Regions from separate parts of the Homo sapiens genome. Here all the other regions are linked to region 3. The links are contacts of gene promoters, found by promoter capture Hi-C in blood cells and fetal thymus (Javierre and others, 2016). All regions are on one chromosome and are shown on one strand. The core of a region is centred on a gene start or on the middle of the fragment in contact, and the rest is flanking DNA. Distances in the headings are between cores, read along the strand shown.

Region 1 (3,117 bases), core at 370-2,869, 320 kb before region 3:
CCTCTGTCAGTAATTTTATGTTTGATCACTTGGCTGAGGTAGTGACTATATTTCTTTCATTATAATTAATAAATAATCTGAAGGGCATTTCTTTGCAAATGTGTCAATCCTTTGCTCTTTTTACAACTACTGTCATTCTTCTGTAAAGAAGGCTTTTCCTCCCTCCATTCCACACCTGGTTTTTAAAAAATATCACCGTGGACTCATGGTTTTGTTTTGTTTTTTCCATTCAGTGTGTCATAATCCATTACTGTTGTTACTCTTTTTGATGTTCAAATTGTCTCACATTTGGCCAGTCAGAGCCACTGGAAGTTGGCTCATGCGTCCCTCTGACATATTCCCATCAGACTTATAGCATTCCATTACTTATATAAATAAAAACGAAACAATGAAAATAAGTGAATTAAAATCTCCACTATGAAAGCTAGAAAATAACAAAGTAAACCCATAGAAAGCCTACGGAAATTGAGGTAGAAAACGGAAAAATGTAGCACCAATAAATCGAAATCCTGGTTCTTTGAAAAAAATTAATGAGACTGCTAGGCATAACTTTTGATAAATTTGAAAACCTTGGCGAAATGGAAAATCTAGGTAAATACAGTTTTCCAAAATTGACTTCCATAGAAGAAACAGAGAAAAGTATCAAAGATTTGCTACAAAAAAAGCAATAGTGCCCACAAACTTCACATGGGAATTCCACAAAACCTTCAAAGACCAGAGCTACATAAATTATTCTGGACCACAGAGAAACAAAAACATAAAAGTACTTCTTATAAATAAGTATAACCCTGATAAAGATAGCTATACATGCACATGTGCAGTACACATGCACCATACCACCTCTCTGGGGTTCCTTTGCCTGTCTCTTGGTTTTCACATTAAATCACTTTGTATTTCTTTGTACCTAGTGCAAAACTAGTGTTGCTTTGTTAGCCAATTTGAACATCATTTTCTTTTGATAGAAGAGTTGCCTACTGGTATGACTGGTATGTTTGGTCTCAACTCCATCATATTAGATTTTTACTGTGTTTATTGTATTTGCTGCACTTTGTAGTCTGTTTTTAAAAATTCTCAGCTGGGCGCAGTGGCTCATGCCTGTAATCCCAGCACTTTGGGAGGCCAAGGTGGGTGGATCACCTGAGGTCAGGAGTTTGAGACTAGCCTGGCCAACATGGTGAAACCCCGTCTCTACTAAAAAATACAAAAAAAATTAACCGGGTGTGGTGGCGGGTGCCTGTAATCCCAGCTACTCGGGAGGCTGACGCAGAAGAATCACTTGAACCCAGGAGGCGGAGGTTGCAGTGAGCCGAGATTGTGCCACTGCATTCCAGCCTGGGTGACAGAGTGAGACTTTGTCTCAAAAAAAAAAAAAAAAAAGAAAGGAAGAAAATTATCTTGGTATTCAGAACATTTCACGTGTTTGTTCTAGTGATTACCTTCATAGTAATACTTTTTAGCAATGTCCTTGGTCTCCTTTTTCCTTATTCAAGCTTCCGTGATTTGGTTTGTCAGCTTATTGCATCCTTCGATTTCTACTTCTTTCCCATACAATATTTATTATTCAACTTTTCTCCCTCCTCCTTCATTTTCAGTTGTATTTGTTTGTCAGAATATAATGTATATTCTGCAACGCTTGTCACCACCTTTGTTTTAGTCTTAGATTCTCAATTAAACATTCAATTCTCACCATCAGTTCTTTTGCCAAAAATGAAAATGACCCCAGTCATCTCTTAGGTGGATGAAGCTTATCTTCTGTTAGATTCCCCAGGAAAGTCTTGTAAGTGTGATATTCTCTGAGTTCTTGCATATTTATTTTTTACAGCCTTGATACCTGAAGGATAGCTTGGCTGGCTTGGTTGTAAAATACTTGTTGTGTCTTGCATACACTTGAGTGTCTTTAAAATACTACTCTCCTTGTTATTCTTTTTGTATTTTGCTGCTAGGAAGTCTGATGTCAACCTGGGTATTTTTTGTTTGTTCTAAGTAACAGATTTTTGTGGGTAGGAGGTATGGAAAAGGTTGGACCCCTAAACATTTTGAATGTTCTTTAAAGTCTGTAGATTTGCTGGGATATGTTTTAAAGTTGACTGTTCTGGGTCAATTTTCCCAGACACACAGTGGGCTCTTTCCATATTATATCCAAGTCTTTTATTTCTAGAATGTTTTCTGGTGTTAAACACATTAATACTGTCCCATATTTTATTTATTTTGTCTTTATTTCTTTGGGCATCTCCAAATATATGTAAGTTTTCTTTGCCTAACTTCCATATTAATTTCCATCTAATTCTTTTTACTACTTTCTATATTTAGTTTTCATTCTCTTAGCTGTTTCATGCCTTTCCTCAATGCCGAATATATTTTCAGCTCAATCTATTGTTCTTTAGCTAACTTGTAATTGAGTCTTTATACGAAAATTTTGGCTTTTTCTTCAATTTCTTTTCTGAGTTTAGTAAACTTTCATTTCACAGCATGCAGTTTTTTATCCATTTTGGCTTTAAGTTTTTGAATTTCTGATTTAAGGTGTTTTGTCTTATCTGCAAATGTTTAAGGACATTTAATTCAGATTGGTAGATTGTGTAACAATTTTCTTCTGCTTCATGACTGTTTTTTGAGGGAGAATATTCATTACGTGAAATGTTTTGATTTTCATTTTCTATTTTCTTCCTGTAGTAGTTGTGTACAAATGTCAGCTTCCATGTTTGGTTCATTTTTGTAAGGTCTTATTTTTTCTCAATCAGCAATAATAGGTGTGAAGGTTTGGGGAGGCTTACTAAATTTCTTAGATTAAGAGCACCATCTTTTATTAGTGAAGTGGTTATTTTGGAAGAGGGAAGAAGGTGTATATTTGATTTTGTGATTCTCATTCCCATTTCTCGTGTCTTTCTTTCCTTCACCACCAGTCCTCTAAAGGGTACCTCCTCCTTTTAGGCCATGCCCATCTCCCCGAGAAGCAATGCTTTCCCAAGGTTACTACCTATACTCCTATATATCTGAAGTCTCTTATTTTTGATCCTCCAAGTAAACAGAGTTCTAATCTACCACATCTCAGACCTGTTCTCAGTATGTCTTTGATGAGGGTAGGTCCTTCTCCTTCTGGGGGGTTACTTTATCTGTGGT
Region 2 (3,168 bases), core at 635-3,134, 280 kb before region 3:
TGATCATTATGACAACCAAAATTAGAAAACAGCAGGGGAAAAAGAGTGAGAGGGCTTGGAGGGGTGGAATGGGATAGGTAATTCATAAATTGGATAAACAGAGGCCTCAACAAATGCCTATTTGTCATAATCTAAAGATGACTGACCCATTGTCATCTCATTTTTAATACAATGACCAAGTCCCTGAAGCCACCTGGTAAAATGTAAAACGAACTTCTGAAAAGAAATTGAGGATCCAGGATTCTACCATCAACAGTAGTTAATAAAGTTTACAAGCCAGCAGTTACTAGTTCTCATTAAGAATTAACTGATATTTCATAACCTGATCCCCAGTAAGCTTATTAATAAAAAGCAACGGAAATTTCGGGCTGGGCATGGTGGCTCACACCTGTAATCCCAGCACTTTGGAAGGCTGAGGCGGGTGGATCACCTGAGGTCAGGAGTTCAAGACCAGCCTGGCCAACATGGTGAAACCCTGTCTCTACTAAAAATACAAAAATCAGCTGGGCATGGTGGCGGGCGCCTGTAATCCCAGGTACTCGGGAGGCTGAGGCAGGAGAATCACTTGAACCCGGGAGGCAGAGGTTGCAGTGAGCCGAGATTGCACCATTGCACTCCAGCCTGGGCGACAAAGCGAAACTGTCTCAAAAAATAAAAATAAAAAATAAAATAAATAAAAAGCAATGGAAATTTGGAGGAAGAAGTAGTGAATCAGCCTCTCTCTTCCATGTGCTGTATTTTATTGGAATATGAGTAAGTATAAGGGTAATATGAGAAATGGGGGGGGGGGTTCTAGTCACCAAAATGGCATCTGACTCTCCAAATGCAGCAATGCTCACTCCAGTGGGTTGCTTCACTGTGACTCAAGATCTGTCAAATGAGGACATAAGGGAATTTGAATAAAGCCAAGATACACTCCTAAAATAAACCAAATCTTCCAATAGACCTAACAGAAGATGTAACAAGAATCAAGAAGCTAACCTACTCAACATAAATTGATTCTAAAATACTTTTTAAAATGAATTATTGCTAATGCAAAAATTCAGGAAAGAAGTCTAGGAATTTGTTTTCCTAATGGCACATTCCATTTATCTGTTGGTAGAGGTCACTAAAATACATTACTAGGTGTCTATGTATCCCTCCCCTGTTCTCCTTTTATAACCTTATTCTTCAAAAATAAAAGGTAATTAAGTGAAAGCATCAATTAAATATGTCCTTCCTTTCTCAAAATAGATAAATACGAATATAACTGAATCTTTGTTTTATAGTATATGCCCACTACGCTGTACGGCAAACAACCATGGCAAATCCACTGCATTATGAACAAAAGTAAATTGTCGCCCCCAAAATATAACTATCCATTTCGACCCAACCAAAGGGAAAATAATTTTCCCAATCCTCCAATTATATGCCAAAAGAATTAGAAAATACAGGAAAAAAAGATTCATAGAAGCTTGTATAAATGTCAAGTGCCAACATTTCACTAATAACCAAGATTTCCTATTGTACTGACTTTTAATTGTATCAAATCATGAATCTTCTAGGGCACAGAAAACAAAGACTAAATGGTTCTGCCAATTTACAATGATCATATTTCACCTTTAGAAGTGTAATCGCCATGGAAGCAATGAATTCATCGAATTCATCTTTCTCTCTCCACTGATTAAACGGATCCTGCACTACAGGCATAATCGGCTAGTTTCTGCCACCACTCATACATAGGCCTCCAACGCACTCTACAAGCCAGGGCTACACTGCCTAGAAATCCGCACTGTGTCACTGCATAAGGCAGTTTCCCACTGCACACATCCAGAAGAATAAAGTCACCTAAGCACTCTTGTCAGATCTTAGCAAGGCTGCAAAATGACAGGAGTTGCTAACCAAATAGCAGGAAGCAAAAATCACCACCTTTAAAAATCATTTAAGCAGTTTTCCTTTCCGCCATCTCACTTCCCTCCTCCTCCTCCTCGTCATTCTCTCTCTCTCTCTCTCACACACACACACACACACACACACACACGCACGCACGCACGCACGCAATGCAGTTCATCCCCAGCTTTGCAAGTGACATGCTGGGAGCTCTCTCTGGACAGCCGGCCCAGAACTCATTCAGAGCCCTCAAATACAGACATTCTCACCTGAACACGCCAGGCAACTTCCACCCGCACCATCACCTCCACCCTCCCCGACACACACAGACTCGCCCTCGCAAGCTCTACCCATACCAATCCCCCAGCTGCAGAAAGCCCAGTAGGCTCACTGCAAGCGCAGCACGCGTTACCACTTATAAGCCGAGTTGGGCGGCCTAAGCTTCAGAAACCGCCTCTTCACGCAGCCCACCCCCACCACCCCGGCGCGGCTGGACCCCTGGCCCGCCAGGTGGGATGCGCTACCTTTAGACTGGCAATCTGCACAAAACTTGTTATCCTCCTCCAGCAGCAGGTTGGCCAGGACAGCCTGGTACCGATCCACGTCCTTCACCGACTTGCCTGTCATGGCCAGGGTGCCGGCGGGGGCAGAGGGCGACGCGCCCTCCTCGCCCCCAGAGACCCCTGCCTCAGTCCGGGGTTGAGGACTCCCGGTCCCCCGCCCAGGGGCACCTCCTGAGCGGGGAGAGCCCTCTCCTCCGGCCCCGCCGGACGCCCCTTCCCGGGTCGGGGGCGTCCGTCCCCCACTCCGCAGCCCCTCGGCGCGGCGCCCCTTGGCGGGCTTAGGGACAGGCCCGCCTCCAAGAGAGGCTGCGGGGCCAGAGACCCTCAGCCCAGGCAAAGGCGGACCACGAGCCTCCTGGGTGCCGGACGCAGATGACCCTCTGGCCGGCCTGTCTGCTGGCCTTGCGTCCCGCGCCTCGGTTTCCCTGGCAGCTGCCGTCAGCTCCGCTACCACCTCCACCGCCTACTTCCGGCAGCTCTTCCTCCCCACCTCCACCCTGCCCAGCTCGCGCATGCGCCCCGCCCCCACCGCGCCGCACTGGGCTCTTCCTTCAGCTCCGCCTCTCGGGAACCAATCCGTGGAGAAGCGGGGGGCGGGCCTTGGGTGGGGGCGGAGGGAAGGGGTGGGCACGCCCCCTGCGTGTCCTTGGAAGAGAATGAATGGAGCCTGGTAGAAAGGGAGTGGAGGGAATGGAAGAAAGTGAAGGAAGACAACAACTAACATTTACTGAGCTCT
Region 3 (3,381 bases), core at 794-3,293:
ACTACTTCAATTTGTAAGTCTTAAGTTAAAATAAAATGCTTATACAATAAGCTTATTTTTCTTAAAACAAAACTGTATACTGTACTGTATAATGCTTTATGATTCTGCATTTTTTTTTCTTTGAGACAGAGTTTCACTCTTGTTGCCCAGGCTGGAGTGCAGTAGCTCAATCTTGGCTCACTGCACCCTCTGCCTCCTGGGTTCAAGTGATTCTCCTGTCTCAGCCTCCTGAGTAGCTGGGATTACAGGCACCCACCACCATGCCCGGCTAATTTTTTGTATTTTTAGTAGAGATGGGGTTTCATCATGTTGGCCAGGCTGGTCTCAAACTCCCAACCTCAGGTGATCCACCTGCCTCAGCCTCCCAAAGTGCGCCCAGTGGATTCTGCATTTTAATCGACTTTTCAACTAACAACTTACCTCTAGTCCCAATGGCATGGAATAGAAGAGATTACAGACCGTGGGTTTGTAATCGACTTTTCTTTTACAACATATTAAGGGCATTTTTCATGTCACTTTATGTAAATTTACCTCATTTTTCTTTTTTGAGAGAGACAGGGTCTCACTGTTGCCCAGGGCAACAGCGAGATCATAGCTCAGTGCAATGGCGAGATCATAGCTCAATGCAGCCTTGAACTCCTGGGCTCAAGTGATCCTCCCACCTTAGCCTCCCCAGTAGCTAGGATTACAGGCACATACCACCACCCCTGGCTAATTAAAAAAAAATTTTTTTTTTGTAGAGATGGGGTCTTGCTATGCTGCCTGGGCTGTACTCTCTTTTTATTTATTTTTTATTCTTATTTTTTGAGACAGAGTTTTGCTCTTGTTGCCCAGGCTGGAGTACAATGGTATGATCTCAGCTTACCGCAACCTCTGCCTCCCGGGTTCAAGAGATTCTCCTGCCTCAGCCTCCTGAGTAGCTGGGATTACAAGTATGCGCCACCACACCCGGCTAATTTTGTAATTTTAGTAGAGACGGGATTTCTCCATGTTGGTCAGGCTGGTCTCGAACTCGCTACCTTAGATGATCTGCCCACCTCAGCCTCCCAAAGTGCTGGGATTACAGGAGTGAGCCACCGCGCCCGGCCCTATACTCATTTTTTATAAAACTGGCCTCATATTATTCCATTGTATAGTGGATACACTCTAATTTCTTTATAAATTATTTAAACTATTTTTTGATGTTTTGTTGAAAAAAAACTTGAGCAGGGAACTGATATTATGAAGGTGGATTGAGGGATGAATGTGGCAATAGAGCATAAAATGAATTAAAGAGGAGAGAATGGAAAAGGAAATGGTTGATGAGAGACCCTTGAAATAATCCAGCTGAGATTAGGCCAGTTAGTGGCCATGGGTTTCCCCCTCACTCTTATGCATCCAACATATGCTTTCGTCCGTCTTGAAGTCCCGACATTTCTAGAAAACACAGTTGTCTTTCTCCTCTCTACCTTAGCTCATCTCAGTCCTTCTGAATTTCATCTTTGCTTGTTGAAATCCTACCTCTCCTTCAATATCCAGAACAAACCCCACACCCTGCCATGATTGGTCCTGGCTGGAAACCGTCCCTCCTTCTTTCTTCCTTCCTCTGTGCATGTTTCTTGCAAAGGCAGTACAGGGCAGTGGTGAAGAGCAACGACTTTGGAACCACCAATTTGCTATCTCTGTGACCTTGGGCACCTTACTCAGTGCCAATTCGCAGTGCCTCAGTGTCCTCACCTGTCAGGGGGAGAAGTGCATACAGCATTGTTATGAAGAGTGAATTAGTTAAAGGTTGTAAGAATAGTGCCTGATAGCATCTGATCAGCACTGAATATATGTTAGCAATTATTTTGATTCACCGCAGAGGGCGGTCTACGAGAGCGCAGAGCCCCACTCGGCCAGCGGGGTCTGGCGGGGGACCTGTCGCGCTGAAAGCTCCAGGGTAGGGCCGACGCCCATCAGGCTGGGCATCCGTTCGGGATGCGCAGGTTGCGATCTGCAACCGGCGGCGCCACGCCCAGGCGGGCGGAGCGCGGTTCCCGGAGTCTCGCGCCCGCGGTCATGTGACACAGCGAAGATGGCGTCGCCCGGCTGCCTGTGGCTCTTGGCTGTGGCTCTCCTGCCATGGACCTGCGCTTCTCGGGCGCTGCAGCATCTGGACCCGCCGGCGCCGCTGCCGTTGGTGATCTGGCATGGGATGGGTGAGTGAGTGAGAAATTTAAAAGGGTTTGGCGATTCTCTCTCTTCCTAGCCTGGGTTCGCATCTGCAAAATGCGGGTGTAGAGGGCGAGGACGTGGTCCCACAGCACGCGGCTGCCTCGACATTTTAGGATTTGAAGGATCTGCATTGGAAAGAGAGAAGGGGAAGGAGCCGTCCCCTTCACTGGAAAGAGAGAAGGGGAAGGAAAGAGAGAGCCGCGCACGGCGTTGAAGTTTTACATGCTGTCCTTGATTAATCCTTACAGTAGTGGCGTCAGGATGCAGCATCTCTCACTTGGTCAGGCTAGGTGAGCTGCGGCTGGCTATATGACTGGCGCATCTACCCTTTTATTTATTCCTTCACACATTGAACAGAGATTTGTTAGGCACCTACAGTTCATTTACAAATTGAGTAACCCTTATCTGAAATGCTTGGGACTGGGAAGCATTTCGGATTTTTTTTTTTTTAATATTTGCATATATACAAGAGATCTGGGGGGTGGGACCCAAGTGTAAACAGGAAATTTATTTATTTTTCATATACACCTTATACACATAGCTGGAAGGTAATTTTATGCAATATTTTAAATAATTTTGTGCAACCCATCACATGAGGTCAGGTGTGGAATTTTCCACTTGTGGCATCATGTCTGCGCTGAAAAACTTTCAGATTTTGGGTTTCCCATTTTCAGATTAGGATGCTCAACCTATATTCATTTAACACAGTTATTGAGCACCTACTAGGTGCTGAGGATACAGTAGGGAACTAAACAGACTAAATTCTTTGTTCTTTTGGAACCTACTCTCCAGTAGGAGAAGCAGATTATAAAGAAATTAACAAGTAAAACATAACATATCAAATGGTGATATGTGCAACAGAGAAAAATATAGTAGGGTGTAGGATAAAAACTGGAGGTGGGGGCTTGCACTTTTAATAAAGCAAAGTTGGGAAAGAATTCATTGAAAAAGTGACATCTGAGTACAAAACTGAGGTAGATGAGGACAGTTGCCATTTGGCTGTCTGGTAGAAGGAACAGTAAATGGGAAAGCCCTGATGTGGAAGTATGTCTGGTGTGTTCAAGGGACAGCATTCAGATCAGCGTGGCTGGAAATGAGTAAGCAAGGGGAAGAAGTTAGGAGTTTAGTTTGGAAGGGAGGGGCAGGTACAGAAGTTATTGGGCCTAGTAAGACTAATGCAGGGAC
Region 4 (3,238 bases), core at 541-3,040, 290 kb before region 3:
TAGAGCCAATTACATGGATAATGGCAACTTGGAATTGGAAAAAAGGGTGAATCAGAAAATGGAGACCATTTAGATTATTGTCAGAAGTTAATTTGAAGAAACTCATTGATTCTGTTCACGCAAATACTCCTTAAAAAGGTTAGAAGTGGCCGGGCGCGGTGCCTCACGCCTTAATCCCAGCACTTTGGGATGCTAAGGCCGGTGGATCACCTGAGGTCAGGGGTTCAAGACCAGCCTGGCCAACATGCTGAAACCCCATCTCTACTAAAAATACAAAAATTAGCCAGGCATTGTGGCTCACGCCTGTAATACTAACTATTCAGGAGGCTGAGGCAGGGGAATCGCTTGAACCTGGGAGGTGGAGGTTGCAGTGAGCCAAGATTGAGCCACTGTACTCCAGCCTGGGCGACAGAGCAAGACTCTGTCACAAAAAAAAAAAAAAAAAAAAAAGTTAGAAGAACTACTTACACTTTGTTGATCAACTTACAGTCTCTCACAAATAGCTTTACAGGGCCTATTTCCTCTATTTGCAAAACATCTTTTTGTGCAAATCTTGCTCTGCCCACTTTCCCCATGAAGCCTTTTCTCCTTCCTATTCCAACTCCCACGGCGCTCTGCTGCCTCTCCTGCTGCACTCACTCATTTGTGGTTGTTCTGTTGTTGGGTTTTTTGTTTGTTCTTCTAAGATAGGGTTTGTTGCTTTGTTGCCCAAGCTAGAGTGCAGTGCAGCCTCAATCTCCTATGCTCAAGCAATCCTCCCACCTCAGCTTCTTGAGTAGCTGGGACTACAGGCATGTGCTACCACGCCTGGCCAGCTTTTATTTTTGAGAGCTCCTTTAGGTAACAACAACAATAAAATTATACTAATTTAGTATACTTTTTTTTTTTTTGAGATGGATTCACGCTCTGTCACCCAGGCTGGAGTGCAGTGGTGTGATCTTGGCTCACTGCAACCTCCGCCTCCCGGGTTCAAGCTATTCCCCTGCCTCAGCTTCCCGAATACCTGGGACTACAGGTGCATGCCACCACGCCTGGCTAATTTTTTGTGTCTTTAGTAGAGACAGCGGGGTTTCACCATGTTAGTCAGGATGGTCTCGATCTCCTGACCTAGTGATGCACCTGCCTCGGCCTCCCAACGTGCTGCGATTACAGGCATGAGCCACTGAGCCCGGCCTAATTTAGTATACTTTTTAAAAACCTAGTATGACTATTTTGCTTATGTGGATTTAAGTTTTAGATTGCTTATTACAGAAAATCACAGAAAGGTAATTTAAATACCCTAAATAGAAAGTCAAGGAAAAGGGTGTCCTTAATGCTCCTTGTCTCCTGGTTAGCCTATGATATTTCAGCTCCAGCCAATTTCCTTTACACAAAGACCCTGCTTAAAGCATTTATGAATAAGCTGGAAGAGTGGTGGATGAGACATGGCTTCTCTGAATAGGGGAGGGAGGACACAAAAAATAGCTGCTTTCATTGAGGGCAGGAAAGAGATTATTTCATTAGGAGCCAAACAGTGAGACTATCTCAGTACAAACAATTGTTTGGCTTGAAGACTCCATGTGGGTAATTACTCCAGCAAAGGCTCAGCTGGAATGGAACACGGAGCCTGCCAGGACCTAAGGATAGGGACTGACACAGGCTTAAGTGTCTGAATCATGGCTTTGGAATCCCAGAGCATCCCAGCAAAGATGCTCACAGAACACACTCTACCCCAATCAGCGAGAAGCACCATTCTGCACCCGACCAAGTGCAGAATGTGAATTTAAAACAGATGAGAAAATCTGGGGGTACTGGGAGCAAATTCAAAGTTATTAAACCTAAACTGATATTTTATAGCAAATGTAGCAAGTCCAAAGATTAGATTTCTTGGGCAATCTAATGCATTTCAATCACCACTTCAATGGCTAACAATAGGCTGGGTGGAGTTGGTGTGCAGGGAGGGACTGCTGAGCTAATAGCTGGGCAAATCATTTCAAAGTCAGCCAGGTGGACCTGATATTTCAAAACTTGATACTATAATTAAACCAATTTCCTAGTGACCTCACTTCAGGTAATATAAGCAAACTTGGTTCTCAAGTTACTGTCTTCATCTCCTGGGGACATTCAGTTCTTTACATTTTTAGGTTACTTCAGTTTAACTTCCTCTTTGCAACAACCAGTATCTACTCATATATTTAAAAACAAAAACAAAACAAAACAAAACAAAAAACTAAAGCTGCAAAGTGAGCCTGCCCACTGCGGGAGGGAAAGGGCCTATGTTTAGAAGAAGCTACTAAAAAGGGTGATATGGTCATTGTCCAATGAGATTGCTCTTCATCCTCCATCCCTAGGATAGATTCCTCACCCCACCACTTTGACGAGGAATTTTTTTCCCCTAGGAAGCTGAAGGGATAACTATCATAATACTAGATTCTGGATGCACAAGACCCAGTCCCGATCCATAACTCACAATCCCAGGGCCTTCCTAGGTTGCTATCTGATAGCCTTTGTGAGTGAATGCTTTCATACATTTCAATCATTACCCTGACCAAGGCTAATAGCAGGCTGGTGGGTGTAGGCGTGTAGGGACTGCTGCGCTAACAGCTGGGCAATCATTTCAAAGTTGGCCAGGTGGACTCAACATTTGAAAACTTGACATGGTCATTAAAGTCCCTCATAATCAAGCGTCGGCATTCATCTGTGTATAGTATACACTTAATGCATGCTTACTGATTAAACAGGTAATAAGCAATAGTGGAATAACATGAAAACTGATATTAAAAACAGCCCATATTCAAATAGTCCCATCTTTGTTCCTCTAGACCAATGGCTCCCAACAGAAACGATTTCCCCTCAAGGGGCAATGCTGATGTCTAGAGACATTTTTGGTTGTCACAACGGGCAGAGGGGTAGGGAAGAGCTACTGGCATCTAGTGGGCAGAGGACAGGAATGCTGGCTCCTAAACATTCTAAAATGCCCTGGACAGTGCCCACAACAAGGAATCACCCAAAATGTCAATAGTCTGAGGTTGAGAAATCCTGCTCTAGAGGAACCATTTTTAAGCCATTTAGTTTGAAGTGAGACATAAGAATATGTCAATTTTGTGGAAAAGCCTCTCTTGTTCTGTAACAAACAGATACACGTTTAGAGTACAAAATTCTAAAATTGTAACAAACCTTAGGAATGATCTAGTCTAAGCACAGTTGGAGAAACTAAGGCCTAGAGAGGTCAAGTCATTTGCCCAAGTTCACAGAAGAA

Evidence for each region. The method cuts DNA at HindIII sites, captures the fragments that hold promoters and counts their contacts. A CHiCAGO score of 5 or more calls a contact.
Region 1: a contact is called between a fragment that was not itself captured here and the fragment with the promoter of PPT1 in region 3, in 16 of 17 cell types (total B cells, naive CD4 T cells, total CD8 T cells and 13 more). The highest score is 9.2, in total B cells.
Region 2: a contact is called between a fragment that was not itself captured here and the fragment with the promoter of PPT1 in region 3, in 3 of 17 cell types (erythroblasts, megakaryocytes and endothelial precursors). The highest score is 5.5, in erythroblasts.
Region 4: a contact is called between a fragment that was not itself captured here and the fragment with the promoter of PPT1 in region 3, in 4 of 17 cell types (M2 macrophages, M1 macrophages, erythroblasts and 1 more). The highest score is 8.0, in M2 macrophages.

Annotation. Positions count from the first base shown.
Region 1 is chr1:40,417,541-40,420,657 of GRCh38, reverse strand. The region is part of intron 9 of SMAP2 (small ArfGAP2); the gene reads right to left. Among named protein-coding and RNA genes, the nearest start is that of ZFP69B-DT, 31 kb to the left of the region's middle. The HindIII fragment of the contact is 254 bases long and covers 1,493-1,746 here.
Region 2 is chr1:40,373,449-40,376,616 of GRCh38, reverse strand. It overlaps SMAP2 (small ArfGAP2), which reads right to left and starts at 2,890. Exons shown (of 10, transcript NM_022733.3): 1 at 2,394-2,890. The coding sequence starts at 2,496. RefSeq lists an enhancer at 2,133-2,632 and silencers at 2,618-2,757, 2,828-3,147. The HindIII fragment of the contact is 857 bases long and covers 1,456-2,312 here.
Region 3 is chr1:40,095,914-40,099,294 of GRCh38, reverse strand. PPT1 (palmitoyl-protein thioesterase 1) reads left to right here and starts at 2,043. Exons shown (of 9, transcript NM_000310.4): 1 at 2,043-2,180. The coding sequence starts at 2,057. RefSeq lists an enhancer at 2,179-2,308. The HindIII fragment of the contact is 4,509 bases long and covers 54-3,381 here.
Region 4 is chr1:40,390,754-40,393,991 of GRCh38, reverse strand. The region is part of intron 1 of SMAP2 (small ArfGAP2); the gene reads right to left. Among named protein-coding and RNA genes, the nearest start is that of SMAP2, 19 kb to the right of the region's middle. The HindIII fragment of the contact is 3,918 bases long and covers 1-3,238 here.